Regions from separate parts of the Homo sapiens genome. Here region 2 is linked to region 1. The links are contacts of gene promoters, found by promoter capture Hi-C in human tissues and cell types (Jung and others, 2019). All regions are on one chromosome and are shown on one strand. The core of a region is centred on a gene start or on the middle of the fragment in contact, and the rest is flanking DNA. Distances in the headings are between cores, read along the strand shown. Region 1 holds the start of KCNK5 (potassium two pore domain channel subfamily K member 5). Region 2 has its middle 23 kb from the start of KCNK17.

What was found. Contacts are between HindIII fragments. The study calls those that stand out against the background at their distance.
Region 2: a fragment that was not itself captured here is called in contact with the fragment with the promoter of KCNK5 in region 1 in 1 of the 25 tissues and cell types used here (psoas muscle).

What each region holds. Positions count from the first base shown.
Region 1 is chr6:39,225,662-39,231,747 of GRCh38, reverse strand. KCNK5 (potassium two pore domain channel subfamily K member 5) reads left to right here and starts at 2,273. Exons shown (of 5, transcript NM_003740.4): 1 at 2,273-2,822. The coding sequence starts at 2,637. RefSeq lists enhancers at 968-1,695, 5,781-6,075 and silencers at 1,983-2,332, 2,433-2,512, 3,526-3,595. The HindIII fragment of the contact is 12,761 bases long and covers 1-6,086 here.
Region 2 is chr6:39,288,348-39,293,908 of GRCh38, reverse strand. No RefSeq gene overlaps it. Among named protein-coding and RNA genes, the nearest start is that of KCNK17, 23 kb to the left of the region's middle. RefSeq lists an enhancer at 1,942-2,443. The HindIII fragment of the contact is 7,015 bases long and covers 1-5,561 here.

The sequences.
Region 1 (6,086 bases), core at 1,024-3,523:
AAACAAAGAGAGGGCCTGTGGCCTCTCAAACTGCCCCCACCCCATGCTCACTGAAGCGTTCACACTGCAGCCCTGAACTCTTCACAAACAGGGTGAACTCCATCCAGAGAGGGGGGATCCGGAACCCATGCTTGGTTTCCATCCCAGCTGGAGGGCTGGAGAATGAGACTGCAGAGCTAGGGTTCAGGCCACAGCCTGGGGGACAGGGTAGGCAGGAGGTCAGCAAGGCTTAGAGAAGATGGATATGTTGGGTTGGGTGAGAGGCCTGGTGCTGGGAGTGGGTTGTCTACAGAGAAGCACCCCCAGGGCCTTGTCCAGGATGATCCTTGGCCAGGGGGGTCCTGAGGGGACTGGCACTGCACACCTCAGGGATGCAGTATCAGGAAATCTGGGGCTCCCCAGCTTCCTGCTCTGGTCTTCTTCTCTGGACACGCTCATGTTGCCATAAGGAGAGACAGAAACATCAGCAAAATCAGATCAATGCTTCCAACTGTATCCCTAACCCCTCCATTCCAGCCAGATTTGGAGATAGTACAGATACCCCCCTCCCCAAGTAAAGTGTCTCTTGACACCTTGGGGTTCAGGCCACAGCCTGGGTACAGGGTGGGTAGGAGGTGAGAAATGACTCCCCTTCTTCTCGATGGAAAGAAAAGGCCTTGGCCAGGGGACAGTGCTCAGGGACTCTGGCCACTCCAGTACCTGCCCCTACAGAGGCCAGAGAAGGGCAGGGCCAGCCCCTGGTACAGAGCACTGAAAGGAGGTTCCCCCTCCAACTTCTGACTGGTGCTGGTTGAAAGACTGAACAAACTAACCCACTGAGCTTTTTTCCTCACTGCAAAGTGGGTCGAATGACAGGGCCTGCTTATGATGCATGGAAGGGATTCAGTACTTCCTGGGGTTTACAAGAGCTCAGAGAATGGCAGCAAGGCGAGTTAGAAACATCCTGGGCACCTGTTTTTAACAAATTCATTCACTCCTTCATTGCACACATGGTTATTGAGTGTCTGCTATGTATGTAACAAGCACTGTGGATACATCATTACACAAGACAGATTCTCCATCTCCCCAGCAGACATTTCCGTGTGTGTGTGTGTGTGTGTGTGTGTGTGTGTGTGTCTGTGTGTGTGTGGCGGGGAGAGGGCACAATACAGAGTAAACAATAAATAAAGTTATATAATATAGCAGAGGGAATTTAGTACTAGGAAGGACATAAAGCCAACGAGGGAGATAAGGTGGCGGGGGTGGAATTTTAAATCAGCTGGAGCATATGTATGAAAGTGGGCCGGGCGCGGTGGCTCACGCCTGTAATCCCAGCACTTTGGGAGGCTGAGGCGGGCGGATCACCTGAGGTCAGGAATTGAGACCAGCCTGGCCAACACGGTGAAACCCCGTCTCTACTAAAAATACAAAAATTAGCTGGGCGTGATGGCGTGCGCCTGTAGTCCCAGCTTCTTGAGAGGCTGAGGCAGAAGAACTGCTTGAACTCGGGAGGCGGGGGTTGCAGTGAGCCGAGATAGTGCCACTGCACTCCAGCCTGGCGACAGAGTGAGACTCCGTCTGAAAGAAAAGAGGAAAGGAGAGGAAAGGAGAAGAGAAAAGAAAAGAGAAAAGAAAAAAAGAAAAGAGGCCAAGTGTTTCCCGTAGAGATACTGTGTATTGGGGGGGCGCACAGGGGTGCCACGAATTGAGCTGCCCACTCCTTCCAGATGCAGGGTTCTCACCCGGGTAGGTGAGAACGGGGTGAGGGGGAGGAATCACGCGTGGGTGGCTGGATTAGTTCCTGATGTCCTCTGATTCCCTACAGCTTCTTCAGCCCCGTTCTAACCCCCTTCCTCAGGCTTACAAGAAAGTGTGTGGAAGAGAGACACGGAGAGACTGAGCATTAGACTTTTTTGGAAGAAACATCAGTAAATGAAAATGGAATTACAATAAAAATAACAAAAGCAATAAACTCCTGACCTCAGTCACAATCATTTTAGTTAACACGCCAGTCCTAATAACAAACACGAGTCCCTGAGACCGCAACCCCTCGGGCACCGCAGGGCGTGCAGGTCTGGGCGGGCGGCGCAGCCTCCCCTGGCGGCTGACCCTGGGAGCGCGGGGAGCGCCAAGCCTCTTCTAGCGCTCACCTCGCGCTCACTCCTGCGCTCGCCGGGCTGCTTGTGCGGGGAAGGGGCGGGGCCCGCCTGGGCTCCTCCCCGGTCGGAGCCCGGAGCAAGGGGGCAGAGCGCGCCGGGCGCTGGTTAAAGAGGCGTGCGGAGGCGGGCGCGGCGCATACTGCTAGTGGCGCGCGGAGGAGCGACGCGTGGAGAAGCGGCCCACGTGTCTGCCCAGAGTCAAGTCCTGTGTTCTTCCCGCTCCTTACGCATCCGCGGTCCAGGGCGCCCTTTCAGCCCCGCTGGTGTTCGCCCACCCCGGGCCGCGTGAGTGGGGCCCCACGCAGCTCCCCGCACTCCGTGGGCCAACTTGGCCAAGCAACTCTGTCCGGGGAGCGGTGCTTGCGGGGGGTGAGTACCGGGCACTGCGCATGCGGAGCTCCAAATTCAAACAGCTGTTTTCAGAGGCTGGAGGGCGGGCGGACTGGTAGCAGCTGGGGCTAGGAGAGGCTTTCTCTAGGAGGCGGCCGCTCGGGAGCCATGGTGGACCGGGGCCCTCTGCTCACCTCGGCCATCATCTTCTACCTGGCCATCGGGGCGGCGATCTTCGAAGTGCTGGAGGAGCCACACTGGAAGGAGGCCAAGAAAAACTACTACACACAGAAGCTGCATCTGCTCAAGGAGTTCCCGTGCCTGGGTCAGGAGGGCCTGGACAAGATCCTAGAGGTCAGTCGCCGCCTGTACCCCCATATACATCTGAAGCTGGCTTGAGCTTTAGGGGGCGCTGAAAGGAAGACCCCTTCACAGCTTTGGGTGACCCTCAGTCCCTGTGGAAGGTCCAGGGGGTGATGAGAGAGCGTGTCTCATCATGGGTCAGGCTTCGAGGATCTGTCGCTCACCCGAGGGACACAGGGGTCCCCCAGGCGCGGAGACTCTTTGGAACTTAGTTTGGCCGGAGACAAATTGGAGTTGATTCCCGGGTGAACTAGGCTCCACGGTGTTTCAGTGTGGGTGTGACGGTACCTCCCTCCTTGGGAAGAGGCTGTGGGACGGATAAAGGCGTTTATCTTTCCCTGGAGACGCTCCCGGAGTCTGGGAGCCAAGCCTGGTGCCATCCCCTCGTGTCTCCACCTCCCCGCTCCAGGGCCAGTGCCACGCCTGCCAGGCTTTTCTTAAGGAACGTGAACCCGGCAGAGTGGCGGGAGGGTCCCTCAGCCCGAGCCTGGGCAAAATCTTCCGCCCCCAGCAGAGTTCCGGAGAGGAGCTGGAGGCTCTGTGGGGCCCGAACCCACGGGATGAGGGCTGGTGCCTGGAATGCTGGGGACGCGCTCAGGCTTCCGGGAAGGCTTATCTCGCGGAGACATCCTTCAAGGGCTTGGAGTAAAACTTTGTGAAAGTAGCAGGTTGCACAAACGAATAATACCCGCGTAGTCCCTTTATGATGGGGGAGGAGAGTGTGTGCGGAATTGGGGTGGGTGGGGGACTTCCCTCCGTGCTGACATTGGGAACCGCTTATTTTCTGGTGCACAGCCCGATGGGTGGCATTGACCTCACTTTGGATAAACGGGCTGCCTATCCTGGCTGAGACCTTGGGGCCCATTTGGGGACCGAGGCCCTCTACCCCAGTTTCTCGAGGGCTCAGCTTCAACCATCAACTCTTCTTGGCCTGCTCCCCCAGTGGAATGACCAGGACCTGGGTGAAAGTTCTAGATTGCAGCAGGTAGGGAGTAGGGGTAGATTGTCCAGGGTGTTACCTTGCTCTCAGGGTGAAAGATGCCAGAAAGGAGGTCTGATGAGAAGCAACGTTTAGTCTACAGCAGCACCTCAATACTTTATGCCTATCTAGTCGTCGCTCATTTTCCAGCCTCCGTTTCCCCATGTGAGAAACGGGAATGAGCCCATCCTCATTCCTTATTTCTGCCACGGACTGTTAGGTTGGAAGCATTTGGAAAACATCAAAATCTTGTCCCCAGATTGATGGACATCACACAGATAAGCATATACGTATTTGCTGGCAGCCGTGTGTGGGGAGACTTGTCCTCCAAGGGGTCCTGTAGAAGGGGAGGTTTAGTCTAGCAGGCTTAGTGTTGGATTTTAGTGGAGAGTCTCTTGCCCTGTAGCAGTTTCCCGGGTAGAGGCAGATGGGAGGTGATGGTGGGGAGGATAAGCTTCAGTAGATGGTTGGTTGGTTTACCTCCTAACAGCAAGAGTCCTGGCATGAAGAGTCTACATGGCTTCCTTCTGATGGGCGTCTACCCTGGGGGGTGTGTTGTGGGGAGGGGGTTGCTTTATGATTTCCCTTGAGGAAACAATTCCTCTAGAGAACAAGTTTTTGTTTAGTTTGTTCCAGGGCTTTGTTTAGAGGGGGAAGAGGGCAGGCAAGGATGATAAAGCCTTGAGCTGCCCTCGAAGTGTTTCCCTCTAAGCTGTTGCTCCAACACTGCAGGGGAAGGAAGGAAAGAATTCAAGGCTAAATGTGGGAAAATAAACTTCAAAACACAAGGCAAAGGGAAAGGCTGGCGGGGCATACGGCGGGGGGGGCGGGGTCCAGGGGTTAGGCAGCCGGGTGCAGCTGGTGGTCATAGCTTTGGAGGCTAGACGGCTTCTTAAGGTATTTGAACAAACAAAATGCCTCTTATTTAGCAGTCCTGTTAAATCTGTCAACATTTACCCCCCTACCAAAAAAAAGTAATGGGCAGGTAATTTTTAGAAAAAGGACTTGGGCATCAAGCCAGTCTGCTTTGGAGGCTATTATAGATAAGTTCTTGAACAAGGACAGCCCTGTCCTCATCCCCGGCCAAAGAAACTCCCAAACCAACCCCAACTGGGCGAGTCCCTTCCCGTCATAGGAAAAACCCCAAGAAATGAAAATGGACAAGTAGAAGCATTTGCTGACATCAGTTTTAATCTGCAGAAATCTGCCTTGCTCTGCTTTCTTGTGACTTGGGGTACTGCCTCAGGCCTCAGGATATTGGTTTAAGGAAAAATGAAAACTCAAAAATCTTCTTTCCCATCTGGCTGCTTGGGCATTTTCCACCTGACGCTCTGTGTTTTAGCTGGTTCTGAATCACCTTGGAATCATGAAGGAGCCCCTAGCTAGGAATTCCTGGGGTACAACCAGGGGTGGGACAAAGATTGTTGGAAGAGATGGGGTGCAGTCTGAGTTGGGGTTTCTCTTACCCTGAAAGTTGTGTGTGCTCTTTCAAATGTGTGAGAAAGGGAGTTAAGTCAACTTTCTTTAGAAATACCCCCCGAATTGTCAGATACTTCCTTCCCTCCGCTGTGGTTGAAGTGAGGTGCAGGCTGACTTTCAAGTGCTCAGTGACCCGCCAGCCTGGGACCACGTGATCGTCCTCTTTCCTGTCTTCAGAACCATCTTGAACCCTTGCTCTCAAGCAAGATCTTTGGTGACTCATTCTCCCAACCTCTTCCTAAATTGCAGACTCACACAAGGGAAGTTAACATTTACAGCACACCTACTCTGTGTTGGGCATTGTGGGTGCTATTATCCTCATTTTATGAGAGAGGGCACAGGCTGGTTTTGCCATCTGGCTCGGCCATTTACCCATCAAGCCATGTAACTTAACTTTGCCTTCCTTTCCTCATCTGCAAAATGAGTGTTTGGTGAGGCTCCAATAGAGTAGAAACATTAGGCAAGATGTCTATAAAAAGTGAACAGGTCTCCTGACCTTAGCATTTATTGAGGAAGGCAGCTTTACCTACCTGCCTTATTTCAGGTACTCTTTACAGTATGTATTCAAGTAAGCAAGCTGAAGCCCAGAGAAGATAGAATGGCCACAGGGACACCACAGGAGGCACAGCCTATGGGGCGGGACGGGGAGGGGCAATGACCAGGCAGTCTGCCCCAGGAGCTTGCACCTCCCTCTTGGGCCTGTGAAGATTGTTGCTCTGTAACTGAGCTTAGGAAATTGGTTCAGCTGGACCCTGATCTGCTGGAAAATTCTATTTTCTATTTCCCCTAGCACAGGT
Region 2 (5,561 bases), core at 1,899-4,398, 61 kb before region 1:
TGTTCCCCACAAGGAACTCCTCCATCAGACTGGGGGCTTCACGGCATCAGAAACAATGCCTCCCCCATGTGACTAGGTGCTCCCTAGGTGCAGGGGCTGTGTTTAACTCATCTTTTCCCTGTACCCCCAATGTCTAATTCCTCAGTGCAAAACTTAGAGACACAGAAGTGGATAAAATGTGATCCCTGCCATCTAGTAGGGAAGCAGATTCATGTAAAAGGCCCCACCAAGCAGTGCAGTCCATGTTGTGCTGGTGGGCCCGGGTTCAGTCCCAGGCCCGCCACTCACTCCTGTGTGACTTTGGCAAATCACTTCACCTTGGGTGACCAACTCATTTCATCTTTCCTCTCATCCTCACACTGTCCTGAGAAAGTACCATCTCCAAGGAACCCCCTTATTTCCAGGAAAAGCGGGACACTTGTGCCTCCTACTTAGCCTCCCTATGCCTCAATTTCCTCAAATATGAAGTAGAAATGCTAATAGCGGTATCTGCCTTATATGGAAAGCTGTTGTGTGGATTAAATGTGTTAATGTAAATCGAGAACCTAGTGTCTGGCGCAGTGCAAGTTCTATACGATTTGTCTTCTCCATTTGAATTCCCCACAAGTGGATCCTGGGACAGGATCTGGCTGCAAATAGTTTATTTGGGAAATGATTCCAAGAAGCATGGAATTAAAACAAGAGAAGAAAAGGGAAACAATGCAGACAGCATTAATGAGCAGGTGACCACTGTGGGCAGTTGCGCTCCTTCCCGCTGGAGACCTCTGCAAGCCTGCATAGAGCATGGCTTACAGTTGTCCCCTCTAAGGGGTAGAGAGCCGGGGGCATATATTCCCCAAATCCCATTCCTCATCACTTGGAGTAGGATGGTGTTAACTCCCCAGCATTTGCGGATTGGAAACCTGCAGCGTACATGAGCATGGTGGGTGCAGAGCAGGCAGGGCACTGTCAGCGTCTGCTGCGTATATGTCAACCATTCCTGTAACGTACAAGAGGCATGAGGGCAGACAGGAACACCCACTTGGCTATGGGAGAGGGGAGCCAAGGCAGGACGGGAATACATCTGGGTGAGCTTTGAAGGATGTGTAGGAGTTTTTCATGCAGAGGAGAAGGCAGGCCTTGTAATGGTGGGTGCAGAATAAATGTTTAAATGAATGCCTAGTAAGTTGAGAGTGATTCAAATGCTTGAGCTAGTGGGGCTGACTCAGTGCTGGAGAGCCATAGGTGGTCAGAAGGAGAGGTGATACAGTCAGCCTGGAGGCATCAGGAAATTCTGGATCAAGGTATGAGGACCTGAACTGGTCCCTGATCAGCAGGTAGGGAGGAGGGAGAGTAGGCCAGGTAGAAGAACCTCAAGAGCTAGGCAGAGGAGTTGGAATGAGGCGGGACAGAAGGAGTGCTAAGACAGGGAAGAGAAGGGAAGGAAAGGGAAAGGTAAATGGAAAAGAAAGGAAGAAAGAGAAGGAAACAACTGAACTTGAGGAAGAAGAAGAGACACAGGACTCTATATCACAGGGGTAGAAGGAGAACCATGGAGTCTGGCATCACACAGGTCAAAGGAAGAGAGAGCAATGACATGGTGGCATTGCGTTCTCAAGTCCTGAGTCCTACCCAAAGTGGAGGCCAAAGCCATCTGGAACACTTTCCAGGACAGGTGAGCCCTGAACCACCAGGAGACTACTGTGAGCCCAAGAACATGAGCTTCGTGGGAAGAAGGCTGCAGGGACCCTGGGAGTAAGAGTGAGCTGAGGGCAAGGCACTGTCTGCAAGCCAGAAGGGAGGAGGGTTCCAGAGGTTATTACCGGAGCTGTACAAATATTGTTGTTTTGACTGGTAGTGGAGATTGTTTTATTTTTTTCCCCAGGAACCACAAGTGTGATGTGCGGGCTCATTTTAGAACATGACACCACAGGGAGAGCAACAACCTCTGGCCTCTCCTTCCCCACTTCTCCTGGTGAGATAGATGCTTGCAGGCACGCGCACACACACACACACACACACACACACACACACACGATCCACTAAAAAGTAACCCAAACCACAAATGTTCAATCCACCAATGCCAAGGCTCTGCTGGAAATTCCTAACTTCTTGTGATGGTAAGAATACCACTCCCCGACTTTTTTAAATATGTAAAGCAATGACAACAGTACCTGGAATGTAAAAAAAAGGCCAAAAACAAAAAAAAAACAAAGAAAACAAAAAAAACCCATGAATTCATTAGCTATTATTTAGAGGCTGAAAAGCTCAGCGGCTAAGAGCACAGACAATGGAGCCACATTATGTTCGGCGCTCAGCTGCTCCGCTCACTGCTGTGTGACAGACTGTGGAAAGGTGCTTAACCTGTCGGTGCCTCGGTTTCTCCACCTCTAACATGGGAATAGTAATAGTACCTCCCACACATGGTTGCTAGGATAAGGGGGTTAATGCATGGAAAGAGTTCAGAAAATGGTCTGCCTCAGACATCAATAAACATGAGTCATCATCTCATCACCTCCTGCCCATGGAAGGAAGAAGAAATGACCCCCATCCCACCCAAGCCTATGTCACAAACTCCCACTACCTTGAAACCAACTATGCCTTGGGCAGTAGTGTCCTGAGACTGGGAGAATGGAGGGAGGGAGAAGGAGAGAGAGAGAGAATATGAGTGACACCCAAAATTCATGCATCCAACGGAAATATCAGATGCTCAAAGGGCTTGATTCCAAGACTGTGTGAACCTCCTGTTTTCACCCCAGAACTCCATCTGGGGCCTGGGGCCATGATCTCTCTGCCTACCCCTAGTAGGGAGGAGGGAGGTCTCATCCAATCCAGAGGAGACCCTGCTTGTTTAAGTTAAGCTAAGTTCCAAGGCAGAGCCGGCAGGTGAACTGAGGTCTAGATCTGGTCATGGTTAGATTATTATTCTTTGTTGGGTTTGTCTGGGGAGAGAGGAGGTGAAGTGTGCACCATTTTTAGGTTTGGCTTGGAGCAGTGGCTCTCAAACTGAGTGTGCACCTGTATGACCTGGAGGGCTTATTCAACTGCACATCGCTGGCCCCACCCCAAGCATCTGATTTCTAAGATAATTTGCTTTTCTAACAAGTTTTCATGCTGATCCTGCTGGCCCAGGAAGCATGCTTGGAGAACCACTGGTTTAGGAGATGAACAGACCTAGAGAGACTTTGTCTGAATCCCAGTTCCACTCCTAGGAGCTGTGTGACCTTGGTCAGTCTCTTAAACTCTTGGGCCTCAGTCTCCCTCCTTTTTTTTTTTTTTTTTTTTTTTTTTTTGAGACAGAGTTTCTCTCTGTTGCCCAGGCTAGAGTGCAATGGCGTGATCTCGGCTCACTGCAACCTCCACCTCCTGGGTTCAAGTGATTCTCCTGCCTCAGCCTCCCAAGTAGCTGGGATTGCAGACATGTACCACCACGTCTGGCTAATTTTTGATTTTTAGTAGAGACGGGGTTTCTCCATGTTGGCCAGGCTGGTCTTGAACTCCCAACCTCAGGTGATCTGCCCGCCTCGGCCTCCCAGAGTGCTGGGATTACAGCGTGAGCCACCACACCTGGCCAGTCTTTTAAAAATTTAAAATTTTAAAATTGACATTCTAATACTTGTCCTCAGAGTAGCTGTGCAGATTCAATGAGGACATGGAGGTGAAGTGGCCAGCACAGTGCCCAGCTCCCCATAAGTACCCACAGTGACTATTGCTATTATTCCTTCAGTGGCTGGGACTGGGGTTTTGCTCAGGTATGTGCTCTTCCTAATTAATGATGTTCCCCCCAGTCATCAGCCAGGCACATGGCTTCCCAGAATAAAGATCACATTTCCCAGGCACCCTTGAGGCAGTGTCGCCTTATGATAAGTACAGACTGATGGGTTGTGTATTAGACGGGATATTGGTTTGGCTACTAAAACCAGAGACACCCAAAATAGTAGCAGCCTAAGTAAAGGAGAAATGTATTTGTTTCTAATGTAGCATAAGAGCGTATGGCCCTTGTATCTTGTTGGTCTCTCATTCTCAATATAAGACCTTCATCTCATGTAGGATGGCTGCTGCCACTCCTGCCATCATACCCACATCCCAGACAGGGGGAAGTGGAAAGGAAGATCATACTTCTTCCCTCTTAGGTCACAAGTAGTAGCTGTAAATATCATATCTATTCACACTCTACCGGCTAGAACTTAGTCACATGACCACATCTAGCTGTACAGGAGGCTGTAAAATGCAGTCATCAGTTGAGCCGCTCTATGACCAGTTAATGCTATTATCAAATGCTATGACTATGTAAGGAAGTGAGAATGGGCACAGCATTTACCACAGGATGTAGTCAGCAGTTGTGTGTACAACCACTGGGGATTGTCCTTAAAGGGAGGGGCATCCATCCCATTTCAGCCCTTCTTTCTTCCTGTTGTTGGAATGTAAATGTGATTCTCTGAAGTTCTTTGTCTGCCTAAAGTCTGGACCTCCCAAAGAAGGAAACAATTACCTCCAGTCCCTTCCTGAGTTTTCATTAACTGAACCCATTTCTCAAGAAGGAAGACCAAAGTCTGTCAACAAATCTGGATAGGCTTTTGTCAGAAGCCCTTGTCTGCTCTTCGGGCCCTTGTCCTAGACCCTTGTATGTTCTTCAAGACCATTGAACTCTCCCTAGCAACCACTTATTCCCCCTTACCAGAATTCCTCTTCTCCCCACTACCATAAACATGTTTTGCCAGGATCCAAGCCTCCATTCTCTCTGTAAACTCAAGATGGTACACAAGCTTCTGTACCCCATTGGGAGACTGGGTCTTCATTCTGAAGGCTCCTGGGTATATATGGTAAGTAAATTTGTATGCCTTTTCTCCAATTAATCCCCCTTTTATGAGTTGATTTTTCAGCAAACCTTCAGCAGGCCAAGGGGAACTTTCCCTTAGCCCCTACAGTAGTTTGCCATGGTAGACTAAAGAAAGCCCCAGTTCTTCATCCCTCCCAGGATCCCTGCCCTTTGTCATGTGACTTCTCACTCAGGCTGTATGGGCTTGGCCATGGGATTTGCTTTAGCCAATTGGGCTTGAAAGTATTTGTGAAATTGACTTGTTTATTCTCAATCTCTCTCTCTCTCTTTTTCCCTCTCTCCCATAGCCACAAGGACATTTCTGGACTGACCTGCTAGAGGAAGATAGAAAGACATAGTGCCACTGGACATTTCATTTTGGCCTACAGTAACCAACACCCACAGAATGGAACTGCCCATGGGTACCCTTAGTGGGAAACAGGGATAAAAATGAAACTACTGCTTTCTCAACACCTACCGTGTGCCCGGAAATGTTAACTCATTTCAGTGAGATGGTGATGTTGGGGCCAGCATTCAAGCCAGCCTCCAGCCTGACTTGGAAGCTCTGGGTGTTCACACCACCTGGCAGTGCCTCCAAAGACAGCCTTTAACCCTGCTTCCTCGTCTGGCCACACTCCTCACCCACTCCAGCGCCGAGTCTGACCCCAAAACATCTCTGCGAGGGCAGACCTCCATGTTACAAAGTCCGGGAGACACTTTCCAACCTCACCTTACTTGCCCCTCTCAGCAGCTTGGCATCTGT